3 separate regions of the Homo sapiens genome follow, and all the other regions are linked to region 3. Evidence: promoter capture Hi-C in human tissues and cell types (Jung and others, 2019). All regions are on one chromosome and are shown on one strand. The core of a region is centred on a gene start or on the middle of the fragment in contact, and the rest is flanking DNA. Distances in the headings are between cores, read along the strand shown. Region 1 overlaps PREX2 (phosphatidylinositol-3,4,5-trisphosphate dependent Rac exchange factor 2). Region 2 overlaps PREX2 (phosphatidylinositol-3,4,5-trisphosphate dependent Rac exchange factor 2). Region 3 holds the start of PREX2 (phosphatidylinositol-3,4,5-trisphosphate dependent Rac exchange factor 2).

Region 1 (4,768 bases), core at 1,810-4,309, 33 kb before region 3:
TAACTGTGGGCTCTGGCATATTTTAAAAACTAAAAGAATAGGAAGAGAGGCAATCCAAAAGTCTATGACTAGAAGGTAGAGGTGTTCAGATATTTTCTATGGTACAAGGATGAGGCATTCATTTTGCGAGGGAACAAAAATGAAACGGGTTATTCACACTGAAAAACTATCTTTGCATACCTGCTCTTCTACCTATGGGGACTGCAAAGACACTGCGTGTATTGCATGTGTGTTCACACACACACACACACACACACACTCCCTGGCTGCCACAATTCCTGAGGAAGACAGACACATCCACAAATACCTGATGTGGGGCTTGTCTTAGCAAGTGAAAGTCTAGAAATGGGAATTTACAGAGCACAGAGAAGGAAGATATTAAATGGAACTGGAGGGTATCCTAGACAGATGCTTAGAGAAGATGGAGTGTGAGCATTACAGACCGAGAACGGCTTCAGCAGGCAGGCGAGGTTGCAGGGGAAAAGGCGCTTCTAGCAAAGGGAACCACTTGAGGCCAGATCCAGAGGCAGAAGCTACCAGATCTGTGTGAGGACAGATGATCAGTCCAGCGCACGTGATGGGGACATGGGGGAACAAGGTAGGAGATGAATCTGAAATGTACCTGGAGAGGAATGGTGGATGCCTTTCAATGCCAGCTGCAACTTCATGCTGGACACACTTGGTAACTGAAATTTTGCCCCAGTGCACATCAATCTCCCCACAGAAAGACAACCCCTGGACCTGTGCAGAAATCCAGCCGATTGAAGAGGAATAAGAATTATTCTAAAGGTGACCAGACAGTACAAAGAAAAAGAATTAAGCTTTATGGTGCTAATAGTGGTTCTGAATTGATTTATTTAGCGTTGATAGCCAAATACCTTGCTAGCTTAACTTTAAAAAAGAGTTGACTGGCCTTATATAGCTCCAAAAAAATGAAAACAATGACTTGAAAAAGGAGCAAAGAAATACATCAGAAATTAGTTAGTGGTGTTCTTTTTTTTTTTTTTTTTTTTTTTTTTGAGATGAAGTCTCACTCTGTCGCCCAGGCTGGAGTGCAGTGGCGTGATCTCTGCTCACTGCAAGCTCCGCCTCCCAGGTTCACACCATTCTCCTGCCTCAGCTTCCCAAGTAGCTGGGACTACAGGCACCTGACACCGTGCCCGGCTAATTTTTTGTATTTTTAGTACAGACAGGGTTTCACCATGGTCTCCATCTCTTGACCTCATGATCCACCCACCTCAGTCTCCCGAAGTGCTAGGATTACAGCTGTGAGCCACCATCCCTGGCCAGTGATGTTCTTTTTTAAAACATCTTTAAGTTTGGTTTTCGTGAATTCCAAATTGCAACACAAGACATTATCTCTATTAGTACTGACAAGAGCCAAAAAGAGTCCTAGAGATCACTTGAAGCTCTTGGCCTTACTGTTACTCTCTGCCCCAGGTTGTTGGCACTGTGTTCTTCAACTCCATAAGGTTCTCGAAAGAAAGGCACCATGCTGGGTGCCAGCAACTCATAATCAAGCCCCTGCCATTAGAAGTTCACTATATGATAGAAGTGATACACATGTAAATCTATGACTTAAACCCAATGAGATAAATCTCCATGAAAGTATTACAGAGGACTCAGAGGCCAATCCAGCTAAGATGTCTACATGTAGCAAGCAAGCACGTCATTTGCACGTAGACAAGCCACCTGTAGTCAAGCCACCTGCAGACAGGATGCCTGTAGACAGGATGCCTGCATGGATGGAGCAGCCCTACGCTCCCGGCATGCCCAGGCAATGTAGTGTACTGGCCAAGAGCAGGAACTCCATCACAAGACTTCTTCAGTTCAAATCCAAGCTCTGCTACTTCCGAGCTGGGTGATTCTGGGAATTTCTCTAATTTCTCTGTACCTGAGTTCCCCATCTATAAGAGTGCCTACTCTCTGGGATTACGGTGGAGATTAAAAGAATTTATATACACACACTGTGCCTTGTACATAAAATCATTTTCATCAATATAACCTGGTTATCCCAAAAGAGATAGTAGAAAGGCATATTAATTTTTCCCCCATTTTTCCTGTCTCCAACCAAAAGAAAGATTACGAAAACCAACTTTTCTCTCAAAACGCTTTTGCCAGTCAAGTGAAATTAACCTTGAACTTCCATCTCCCAAGTGACAGCTGGCCTGAGATCTTTCTACAACTATGTGTGGCTTCCTATTCATAAAGTTTCCTTAAAGCTTCAATTAGATCTGTGTTCCCTGCTAGAAACCACATGGTCTGATAATAGAATTAAAGGGACACCACTCTGGATAGCTCTGGTGGGGAACACAGGTCGCTTGCATGGATGGAGCAGCCCCATCGCCCACAGGGAAACAGTTGCCCCTAGGACCAGCCAAGCCCAATGGCCTGCCCAACATCACCCTGAAACTGTCCTCTGCAACTGTGTTTGGCCATGCAGGGAAGAGTATCCTTCTTAGTTCCCTTACAGCCTACTGTACTCAGCGGCCCTCCTGGGGAGTCTCTGCCTCTGAGTTCAGGATTCACCAGCTGCCCTACTTAACAATGAGAGCTTGGTGTCCCAGAAGAAATGATCATTTTCCTATCTCCGACAATAAGAAAAATTAAGTGCACGGTAAATCATCACACTCACAGCTCTAATATTGACATTTAGACCAAAGAGAACTACCTTTTCCATATTTCATTAGGTTTTTAAAAAGAAAACTTGGGTAAAATCCACTGCAACTATATTAGCATCAATGTTAAGTATAATCTAAAAACTGCTTGTGTTAAAATTAAGACAAATATGGTCATTGAAATTAAATATTATATTATATCAAAAAAATTATAAGAAACAATCCTTAGAGAAAAATCAAATTTCCCACGAAGCTACTACTTTACCAAAAGCATCCCCTTTATTCTCATCCCTCTAAACTGAAATCTGTTAATTAGGTTGGCAGCAAAGCCTACCAAATGCTGATGAGTATTCACGATGCTATTGTGTTTGGCTTTCAAAACAAGTCATGGTTAGGAAATCAACATAGGAAGCATACTTCAAACATCCAAAAGCGTTTTTCTCTGCCTAGCAACTGGCAAGAACTTGGTATGTTTTCTCTGCTTCTATGTCATGTTGCTCTGGTCACTGGAACAACGTAGTCGCTACAAAAGGCAAGAAAAAAAAAAAAAACTTGTGTACTTAAGCACAGCCCAAAGTCCTAACAGGGACCCGTGCGACTGGGCTGGGTGCCTGGGCTGGCTTCCTTGCCAAGGAAAGGGGAGGTGGTGAGGCCCCCTCTCCCTCTCCGTCCTGGTTTCCTCCTCACCCCACATCGCAGCTAGGACCTTCAGCATTTCCTCTTCTGGGAAGGCTGGGAATTGGCTGTTTTTATGAAATGAACATGACCCAGAAAAGCATTCAGCATGATCAGCTTGTGCATTCGAGAGTCCTCAGCTGTACTTCCCATCATGAAGTGTTTGAGCTCCTGTTTATTAAAGCACAGCTGGAACCGGCAGACCTGCAGTCTTCCAGGCTAACAGTAACAGATCTTTGGCACTGAATTGCCACAAGTCCTGGCTTGCATTTCTACCTAGGAAGTTGAAGAAATTCCTTTCTTATAAACTACCAGAAGTAGTTAAATAAATGAACAACTCACAGTAATTATTTTCCTTAATCAGGCATGTACTAATCAAACCACAGACACATACATACACATGCATGTATGTATGCACATCACCATGACACTGCGATAACATACTCTGGATTTCATGCCTAAAACATTAAGTGATAAAGTGCTTTCCTGTTCAATTCAAAAAGCACAGTTCAACAATTATTTATTGAATACTATGTGCCAGGCACTGAGCTAGCTTCTAAGAAATCAATGTTGAATAAATCATACTCTTCGTTCTTAATGAGTTCATGATCCAGTAGGGGACACGGATGTGTATATGAATACTTGCATGAAAGTGTGCTGCACAAATATTTATTTTCAAGGTTCAGAAGTAGAAGAGAAGATGGAGTGATCAGTTCTTTCTGAAGGTGGAAAGGGTGATGTGGAAAAGCTTTACTAAGAAGCTGACACCTTAGAACGATTCTAAAGAATGGACAGAAATTCAAGTTGGGGAGGAAATGCGGGGAACACTCAACATAGGGAGAATAGCAGGATCAGAGGCATGAGAATACAAATTCCCAGAGCAGTACCAAGCACGGCATTAGATTGATGTGCACTACTATGTGCCAGGCACTGTCCTACACTCTTTACAGGTATCACCTCAATCTTCACAGCAACCCTATGATGCTGGGACCAATATCATCCCCATCTTACAGATGTGAAAATGGAAGGAGACAGAGATTAAGAACTTCTAGGATCACACAGCTTTGATCCCAGCCATGTGGACCCAGAGCTCACGAAGAGCTCACAACCCTAATCACTACTAAGGAAGCACTCAATAATAACAATAGCTAATGGAGAATCAAAGAGTGGTCAATAAATGAAGAAAACTAAACACTCAATTCTGGAGCAAAAATTTCATGAAGTCTGGCAGAAGGAAGAGGGCAGGAAGAGGATACTGCTGGAAATTTGGGATCCTGGAGGCCCTCATGGGCAGCTTAACTGCTTGGAACTTGCCCTGTGGCCATTGTGGGTGACTGAACTATATAGGAAGTTCACTATCATGGCACAGTTGGGAACTTATCTGAGTCAAGAATGAATGGAGGCAGGAACCTCAATTAGGAGGCTATTCTGATAACTCAGGTGAGAATCTTAGCATAAAAACTAAGTAACAGGAG
Region 2 (4,876 bases), core at 2,226-4,725, 57 kb before region 3:
AAATCATTAAAATATCCCACACCTGAATTACTCAAATAAATGTCTAAAGAGATTGCAGTGATTCCCAAACAGCATGTCTAAATCCTCAGTGAAAGCCTCTTGATTGTTGCTGTTTCCTTGTGATTCAGAAACAAAAGGATTTTTTGTGTCAGTTATTGAGAGTCTTTTAATATCTGCCTAATTTCCCAACAAAAGATGTTTTACTCTTTTTCAGACCAATTATTAATTCAAAATGAACATCACTATCATCTCAGAGCTTAGGTGAAGATAATTTGTCATTATACCATCCAAATCAAAAAATAAAAATAAAAACCTCCCTTGGCTGGAACTTGACCAAGATGTGACGATAATTACCACATTGTTATAGTGTATTCTATTTGACCTCAAAATAACAAAAAATAAATATGAAAGAACTGCGTTCTTCAGGAATTTTCAGGGGAAAGAATTCATCATTTGTCAGCATACGATTGGTATGTTACATACAAGGCACAGAGTTTTGAAGATATTTAATACTTGGGTGACAGGAAAGTCAAGAGTAAAACTGGACAGAAGATGAAGCAGAAATCAGGACCATTATTGACAGAATTACAATTATGCGTAAAATTACTAAAATTAAAGGTGAAAGTTACAAAATTTATTGAGATGACTGCAGTGAAATACTATAATAAATGCCATCTTTTCTTAAGTGTGTTTTTGTGAATTTCTTAAATGTTTAATTTTTTTGTTGCATTTAACTTCTAGTTTGTTTCTGCAGTCTTGATTCCCACAAACTCATCTCACAGCTCAGCCTACAAAATTATTATTTTAACAGGATATTTAGCTTCCATTGGCCTAAGGCAATGAGTTGGTCTAAAGCAGAGGTCAAAAACAGTAGAGGTAGGTTTTAACACAACACTATGTGGTTAAAACATTGACTCAATTGCTAACATTAAAAAAAATAAGAGTATTCATATAAAAGTCAATAATTACAGCCTCTCTTCAAACACTTGGAGAAAATTAACACAGGGCCTATCTACCTGAATAACAGTAAGTTAGAGCTGAAGAAGCCACATGTTCCCTTCATTTTGCCACAGTCACCACTACTCCCTATCATCATGTACACCAAAGCTGAATGTTAATTGCCATGTATTCTAATAGTAATGTTGTTTTTTTTTAAATACAAAGCCCATTTTACTCATTTTTTTTGACTTGGGAATCTTTGTAGCCGTAGCCATTTCCATTTCCAGCCACACTCTTAAGGTTTTGTCAAGGTCCTTTTGACTCACAACTTTTTAATACTGATCATTCCAGAGTTCTAAGTTTTAAAATAGCATTTGTTCTTGAAGTGTTTGAGCGAAAATGTACTCCCATGATCAGAGAAAAAAAAAGCTAAAACAAAAATACTTAAAAATAAACCTAAGAAAATTGGAGCATGTTTTACTTAACTCTTAGTTCCCCAAGGAATCTAAAATTAAGCGAGATATTTACTCTTAGAAGTGATATCTTTTGTTAGAGATAGCTCTGGCAGGCATGTATACAGCTAGTTTTCTCAAGGATTGAAACAACTCCATGTTCTTTATTTAAAATTTGTTTTAATAAAGTAACTTTTTGGCAATAAATTCTTATTGGTGTATTCATTCCAAGTATCATTTGATTCATGAAGATCTTGTGTTCCTTGTATTGTTTCGGGTCATTGATGTCTCTTTCCTGAATGGTCAGGGATACACCAAACCCTAGGGAGAAATCAGTTTCAAAAAGAACGAAGATTAGGAAATGTATGATGTTTATAGTGGGCTGTTTGGAAGCCTTCAAAATTAACCCACCACCTTCCTCCCCTACACACCTAGAAATACGCACTCAAACACATACAGATACAGGATGTCTCCTCAGGGTGGAGTTCAGCTCTGTGGTGAGCATTTATGAGAGGCCAGCTGCTTTTAAGTCTCAGTTTCCTCACCCATTAAATCAGGTTAATAATCATATGTGCCTCACAGAGAGGTGGAGAAGATTACATGCAGGTAATGAAAGCCCTTTGCAAAGTGCTAGCACACAAATAAGGCCCAGTAAATGTTATCTGATATTTCTGCCACTGCGCCTATTATCACTATCCACTATTACTACATCCACAGCCTAGTCCCATTACTTCTACTGTGGTTATGATTATTATTAACACTAGAGAGAACAGAACTAAAGGGTAAGTTAAGGGCCCTTTCTCCTCCTCTCTGCTCCTATATTAACAGTAAATCAATCCAACAGACTCTACTTTCTGGAGAAGTCCTTGATATCAGAACAAGTATTATAATTCAAGGTATCGAGGCAAAAATTCTGTTTATTTTTTAACTATTGGATCTTCCACAATGTAGTGGATCTTTTCTGCTCAGGATCCCAGGCTAGCTCCCAGTTGTTTGGTATACATGTCAATCTCTCTAATCATACATTTATCTTCCACCCATTGCAGAAATTTGGAGATTCACAAAGAGTAGAAGATAGAAAAAGTTTATTGAGGATCAAACTCTAAGGTGCTAATAGGGATTGTTGTCTATGTCCTCAATCCTTGAAACAACTTAGAGCACGAGGTATTAATAAAAATGGAACAATGCAAGTGAAGTTTGGTCAGACCACAGCTTTAATTTCAATGAGATGTCACAAGATCAGGGCATGGACCAGAAGCACACAGGCTGGAAGTAAAATGACAGGCTGATCTGACAAGACCTCTACAGAAAAGCCAGGTTCAGAAAAGAAGACTGTTCCTTTGGAAGCTGCCTTCTTCTAGGTGCTACCAACTCTTTACAGCACCAATGGAACACTTAAACAAAAACAATTCATAAGACTAGTTTATAAAATTTAAATTAAAATGTATTTATGTATCATAAGTCATTATATTTGTAAACAAACTTAATGTCAGATGGAAATAAACTTTTAATGAGGTTCAGAATTACAACAAAGAAAGACATTTCAAATATCCCACCATTTTTCTGGTATCATTTCATATAAAAGTATGTTTCATGGTGTCAGCTGGTGAAAAACACGAAATAAAACGGATTTCTAAATGCAGTTCAGAAGCTTACATGAATATATTTGTCAACTTTTTTCTTAATGTCTCTATTAAATTGCCTTATTTTTAATATTATACAAATACTTATATAGAGATGCCAGTAGACTATTATGTCTCCCACATAATAATACTTCATATTGTGCTGGTCAGGAATTTACGTTGATATCAGATCACTTGAACAACACAGCACAATGAAAGAAAAGGGTAAGTGGGAAGTACAAAGTACATTGTATAGATAATATTCTCAAGCACATATTTTTCTCTGGCACAGGAAACTGGTCATTTCCCGAATTTAAAGTGCAGAACACTATTCCTGTTTTAGTCGTTATTCAAGAATGCAGTTCCGATGAAAAGGAAATGTAAGCAGTGTAGAAGGAAACGTATTTAGTGCTGGAAAACCCAGAGAAATGAATGAAGATCCCAACCTGAAGATCTGTCGCTGCCCGACGGCTACTCCCCTCCTTCATCTCATACTCTGATCTAACTCACTGTGCAATCCATGAGGTATAAAAGAAAGATTTATAAATTGGTTTCATATTTATTTCAATTAACATGAACTTGTTTTATTCTTTAAACACATTTATTTTGCATGTCAGTCCGTTTTCATACTGCTATAAAGACATACCGGAGAAAAGGTAATTTACAAAGAAAAATAGGTTTAATGGATTCACAGTTCCACACAGCTGGGGAGGGCTCACAATCATGGCAGAAGGCGAAGGAGAAGCAAAGACACATCTTACATGGCAGCAGGCAAGACAGCATGTGCAGGGGAATTCCCCTTTATAAAACCATCAGATCTCATGAGATTTATTCACTATCACAAAAACAGTACAGAAAAGACATGCCCCCATGATTCTATCACCTCTCACCAGGTCCCTCCCATAACACATGGGGATTATGTGAGCTACAATTCAAGATGAGGTTTGGGTGGGGACACAGCCAAACCATATTAACTTGTCTCCAACTTTTATACCTCAGAAACGTAGGCACTTACTTTACCTTTTCTTTAAAACTGACTTCTAAAATTGTCCACCATCATCCTTAAAACACACATGACTTAAAATACATGTCAGTATCCTATGGCCCTTTCTGACTCACCATATTCTCTCCTTCTCTCATGACCAAATATTGTCTTTACCCTCTTCATTCAACATATCACCCCTTCCTTAGTCTGCAATTTGTTTCCTTTCCTTTTCCATTTGACTCATACTCTATTCCTAAAGGGAATTCGTATAAAGTAACTAAAACGGTTAGTGCTGGGCTGATACGGACAAGTATTAATATATCAGTGGCACAGAAACAGTCCAGAAAATATCCTGAGTATTTAGAATTTACTATTTGAAACAGGTGGCACTTCAAATCAGTGGGGAAAGAATGCCAGGTTTTGGGACAACAGGCAGTCCAGTTTCTAGTCTTTACCAAAATATGACAGAAGTCAGCAACATGAAGTGGTGAACAGCTTTCTGGAGCCACTCTGCCTGGATTTGAAACCCAACTCTGCCAACTACTAGATGTGTGACCATACAAGTAACTTTACCTCTCTGAGGCAGAGCTTCCATATTTGTAAGATAAGAGTAATATGGTATCTACTCCTATAGACTTGCTATAAGCATTAAACAAATTAATATATGTGAAGTAACTGAGGGCCGGGCGCGGTGGCTCATGCCTGTAATCCCAGCACTTTGGGAGGCCGAGGTGGGCGGATCATGAGGTCAGGAGATCGAGACCATCTTGGCTAACACAGTGAAACCCCGTCTCTACTAAAAATACAAAAAATGAGCCAGGCGTGGTGGCGGGCACCTGTAGTCCCAGCTACTCAGGAGGCTGAGGCAGGAGAATGGT
Region 3 (4,747 bases), core at 1,651-4,150:
GTCTTGAACTCCTGACCTCAGGTGATCCACCCGCCTCGGCCCCCAAAAGTGCTAGGACATATGATCTTTTTATAAAGCTAGTAATACCATTTTGTTTGCTTATTTATAGGGCAGTTAAGTAAAAATATGTTCTTAGTAGAACTAAAAATATGTTTTCTACCTCTTCTTCCTCTTCCTAATAAAGATTAGTCATCCTTCATCCATGTTAATGGCTTAAAGCAATAATAGAAATGATTAATGACTAATCTAACAAATATTTAATTTGACTTAGGAGTAAACTATCAATTTTTGGCAACAAATTTACCACTCGACTTATTTAATACTATGGCTAACTTTTAAAAATAACTTCTATTGCTTGTTTCCATCTCTGATCATTCCCTTAGGATAGGTTCCTAGAAGAGGAATTACCAGGCCAAAGGGTTTGCATAGATTAAAAGCTCTTGGTACATATTAGCATAGTCTAATATCAAAACCAGAGTGACTACATCAACTTCAGGTAACCAAGAAAACTCCATGGGGAGTAAATGTTGCTATAAATAACACCCTAAAAAGAAAATCTAATAATCTATTATAAATAGATCTTAGGCTTTGTAAGCCAGAGTAAACTTTTATTTAGGATGGCATTCAGACTAATTAGTGCATTTGTGCATATAAACATAAACAGGCACAAATGATGCACAAAGAAAATGAAAAGTGGAAGAGCCCATAAATTCTGAAAGAGATAAAAAGAAATCATGAAATGATGTTCTCCTTATAAAAGGGGAAAATTTATTTTATACTTTCCACACTTTCTTACCTAACTCTATATACTAACAGTAAGTTTTCTGTTGTAATGATCAGGTTTAAGATTAGAAGAAAAACTGATATTTTAAATAAAGATCAACAAATTGGTTTTTAATATAATTAGATTAACTGTCTCTGCAAATTAGCATTCTGCACAGTACTTTGTTCACAGATCTTCAGAAAGAGTAATTATGTAAGAAATGACTCAGATTCTTCAAAAGACAAAGAACTTTGTTACCAAAAAAGTTTCATGAAAGCCAAATTTAAAGCTATTAAAAATCAAATCTTAAAAACATACTTTTTTGACAATCTTTGTTACAAGGAAGTATATAATAATTCTATAAACCACCAGTTACCAGGATATTCTCAAATACCTGTATATTTGCAGAGAATGTGGCCCCTGGAAGTCAAGTATATTGATTTTGAGAAGTCAACCATAACGCAGCCTGTACATTTTACATCACTTGAGACATTTTTCTTTCCTTCTTGCCACAGCCAAGAAGTGAATTTTATCTGTCATGATTATAAGCAGAAAGTTGACAGATTTCAGAACACTAAGCAGGAAGTTTGGCACCTGAAATATTTTCCTTCAGACCAAGGGGGCATGGAATTGGTTGTTGGAAGGAGAAGGATTTGGATGAGATCACAAAAACTAAAGCTCCTGGTTCTTTGAATGATGCTCTCCCAGGAATCTGGGTGGAAAGAAGCCAAGGCTCAAATTCTTTGTCTTTTCAGCAATGAATAGGAAAAATTCAACTTTTGAGTGTTATCTCAGCAGTTACTTTCACTCAGTTTTGCCCCTTCGGCCCTAAAATGAATGAGACGTTTTCAAAGCAGATGGCAGTGAGTCAAGCAGAAACGTGGAATATAAGTACATCCCCACTTCCACGAAGTCCCGAAGCTTGATTACAGCACTCTCATGGGCCATGTAAACAGGGGACCAGAAACTGAGCAGAAGACAGATTTAAGCCGGGGCGGGGGGCGGGGGGGAGGGAATTGTAAGACTAGGACAGGGTGAGCGCCACATGTGGCTTTAATATCCAACAGCTGCTAGAGATCATCACCCCGCTGCTCTCTCTGTACCCCTACACCAGAATCCTCTGTCTCAAAGACCATAACTAAAGCGGCCACTGCCATGTTATCTGAGTAACGAACTCAAGCTCGAGCACATTCAAGGATTTTTTTTAACTTAGTGTACCTGGATGTAGCCGACTGGACCTTTAATCACAAAACCAAAGCTTTAAAACAAAGTCTCCAGGAAAGAACAAGAAGGAAAATCAATTACACAGTGCACTTGAGCAGACTGGGGAGGCGGGTAAAAGAAAAGTGAGGGAAGATAGGGCAGCCGGGATTCCCTGGACTGGAGCTCTCTTCTCTAGAGCTAACTTTTCAGACCTGGAGGTCTCCAAGGCCCCCGCAACTCAGTGAGTCTCGGGGCACCAACAAATCCCCGCGGGGGTCACCGCGCCCGCGAACGCAGAGTCCACACGTGGATTCCCGCGCCTGTGATGCCCCGACCCGTCCCGGGTCCCCGCACAGACAATGCCGCGCGTCCTTCCCGCAGCCACTCCGGGACCCGCGCCCCGCGCCGCCCGGACGTCCCCCTGCGTCTGCCGGGGACACTCACCGACACCAGGAACTCCAGCGTGCCCACATAGTCCCGCTCGGTCTTCTGGAGCTCGCTGAGCACGCACACGCGCAGGCGAAGCTGCTTCTCCAGGTCCTTGGCGCTCTCGGCGCGGCTGTCTCCGCGGCTGTCCTCGCTCATGGTCGGCGGCGGTGCGCAGCGCGGCGCTGCCCGCCGTGCTGAGCGCTGACCCGCGCGCCCGCTGCTGCCCGGCCCCCGGCGGCGAGAATGGAAAGTTGCCGCCTCCGCCAACTCCGAGGAGAGACAGAAGACTTTACATGCTGGGGAGAGGCTGGGCGCAGGGAGAGGAGGGGATCGGGCTGAAATCCCGGCGCGGGGGGCGCGGGGCTCTGCAGAGGAAACTCCTGGGAGTGGGGGCTCCGGCCAGGCCCTGCGCGCCCGGCCCCGCTGCTCTGGCCTCACACGGCCGGGGCTGGAGGGGAAGCGGCTTCGGCAGCCACAGCAGTGACTTGGACATTAATCAAAAGCTTTGTATCCATGTGACTCCGACCCTTTACCCTTCGCCAAATCTCAGGAAAAAGGAAACACAACCCTGGGGAAGTACTGCGTACTGGCTAATCACACACACGCGCGCGCGCGCACACACACACACACACGCACACACACACACACACACACACACAGCAGCACTTGATATGGAACTCACAGGAGGTTCCCAATCCCAGGGACACACACTCCAAGGCGCAGCTCGAGGGTTACTCCTAAGCCTCCGCTATTGTTTAACTTTAATGTGTTTCGTACAAATCCTGAAAGCAAAGAAACAAGTCCCCACGGTTACATAACTGGATGGGAACAAAAACAACCACGGTATTGACCCTCCCTCTTTGAAAAGAAACACATTGATTTTTTGTTTCATTCAGGCACAAAACAGGTTTGCTTTTAAAACCCTCCAACTGAGAATAGTTCACAGGGCAGACACCCTCCAGTCTGAGCTTGGAAAGTCAATTAGCATAATAAATGAAGACACTATGGGAAAATGACAGCCTCTGCCCATGCAATAAACCCCAGATAAAATAAGCATCACCCTTGTACTGTGCTGTTTTCCATGTCTACAACTTTTTTCAACATCAAGATAGTATGTAAATCCATTGAGAGGCGAGGGTATTTGTGCCAGTTTTGTTTCTAAGAGCTGCTGTGATTTAAGACGGTGTCACTAATTGAAAAGATAAAGCTGTTGTTGAATGCTCATCAGAAGATAGAAAGCTAGATAGATAACGGAAATAATCTTAGATTTTTGAAGATAGACACACAGAACATTCTTGATTTTAAAGTTAAAGTTTATTGCCTTTTCTCACTTGGAAACTAAGCCTTAAATATTTCCAATACATTTAACAAACAAAACAATTTATATATTTTTTTGAATTGGTATTATACACATATATTTTCCACAGATCAACTTCAGTCTAAAACTAATGGCATTTAAATAAACTGAAGAGTGAATAGAGTTGTTGCAAGAAAGTGGTATGTTAATTTGTTGCAGTCACTGAAAGCATTAGCAAAACTCTAAAACATAAAGATGCTTTTCACTATATTTACATTAAAATAATTACCTATTGGTTTTCCAGATGATGTCTTTCCAGAGCATAGTGTGACCATTCCCCTCTGTAACCACACAAAGAAGGATTGTACTTTCTTTGTATATTAAAGATAAAATTTTCGAATGATGTACACAAAGCTGATGGGCAAGATGTGATTTTCCTCTTTCTTTTACAAATGACTATTTAGAGGTAGCCAAGAGCAAAGGGCAAACAACATAGATGGCTTCACACCCTGTGGCAGAAGAACAAAGGGCAAAGCATATTAAAGAGCAGACCTCACAGCACCTAGTAAACAATAAACAAAAGAAGCGGAAGACATAGGAAGCACACATCCAGAAATGAATGGGAAATGCAAGCATGACTGAACCTTCTCCCCATGTACTACAGGCAGCATTTCTTCCTCCCCAGGTCTGCACCTTTCCCTAGGGAAAAAAGCAAATAAATAAAGCAACTTTCTATCAGTTGTTCTCCTACATAAAATAGAATCTCTTGTACTAATTGTCCCCAGTAAAGAACTGCTTATGCAACTTCCTTCTATCAAAAAATTAGTCTATGGACAATCCGTTAGGGCTGCAAGCTCATCTCTGAAAGCAGGACACTTGAGTTTGAATCATTAATGGGGTTTTACCCATCCAAATCATTTACCTCAATTCCACAAACATGCACTGAGGATCTCTACGAGCAGTGCATACTGCGAAGGCCCAAGAGCCACAGAGACCCTGATCTGCAGACACATATTTCTCAAGGTGGCTCACAGACCATTGAATTACAATCACCC

The links. The method cuts DNA at HindIII sites, captures the fragments that hold promoters and counts their contacts. A contact is called where the count stands out against the background at its distance.
Region 1: a fragment that was not itself captured here is called in contact with the fragment with the promoter of PREX2 in region 3 in 1 of the 25 tissues and cell types used here (heart left ventricle).
Region 2: a fragment that was not itself captured here is called in contact with the fragment with the promoter of PREX2 in region 3 in 1 of the 25 tissues and cell types used here (H1 embryonic stem cells).

The regions. Positions count from the first base shown.
Region 1 is chr8:67,983,404-67,988,171 of GRCh38, reverse strand. The region is part of intron 1 of PREX2 (phosphatidylinositol-3,4,5-trisphosphate dependent Rac exchange factor 2); the gene reads right to left. Among named protein-coding and RNA genes, the nearest start is that of PREX2, 34 kb to the right of the region's middle. The HindIII fragment of the contact is 3,074 bases long and covers 1,523-4,596 here.
Region 2 is chr8:68,007,711-68,012,586 of GRCh38, reverse strand. All of the region lies in intron 1 of PREX2 (phosphatidylinositol-3,4,5-trisphosphate dependent Rac exchange factor 2), which reads right to left. Among named protein-coding and RNA genes, the nearest start is that of PREX2, 58 kb to the right of the region's middle. The HindIII fragment of the contact is 6,929 bases long and covers 11-4,876 here.
Region 3 is chr8:67,950,199-67,954,945 of GRCh38, reverse strand. It overlaps PREX2 (phosphatidylinositol-3,4,5-trisphosphate dependent Rac exchange factor 2), which reads right to left and starts at 2,900. Exons shown (of 40, transcript NM_024870.4): 1 at 2,411-2,900. The coding sequence starts at 2,551. The HindIII fragment of the contact is 2,458 bases long and covers 1,854-4,311 here.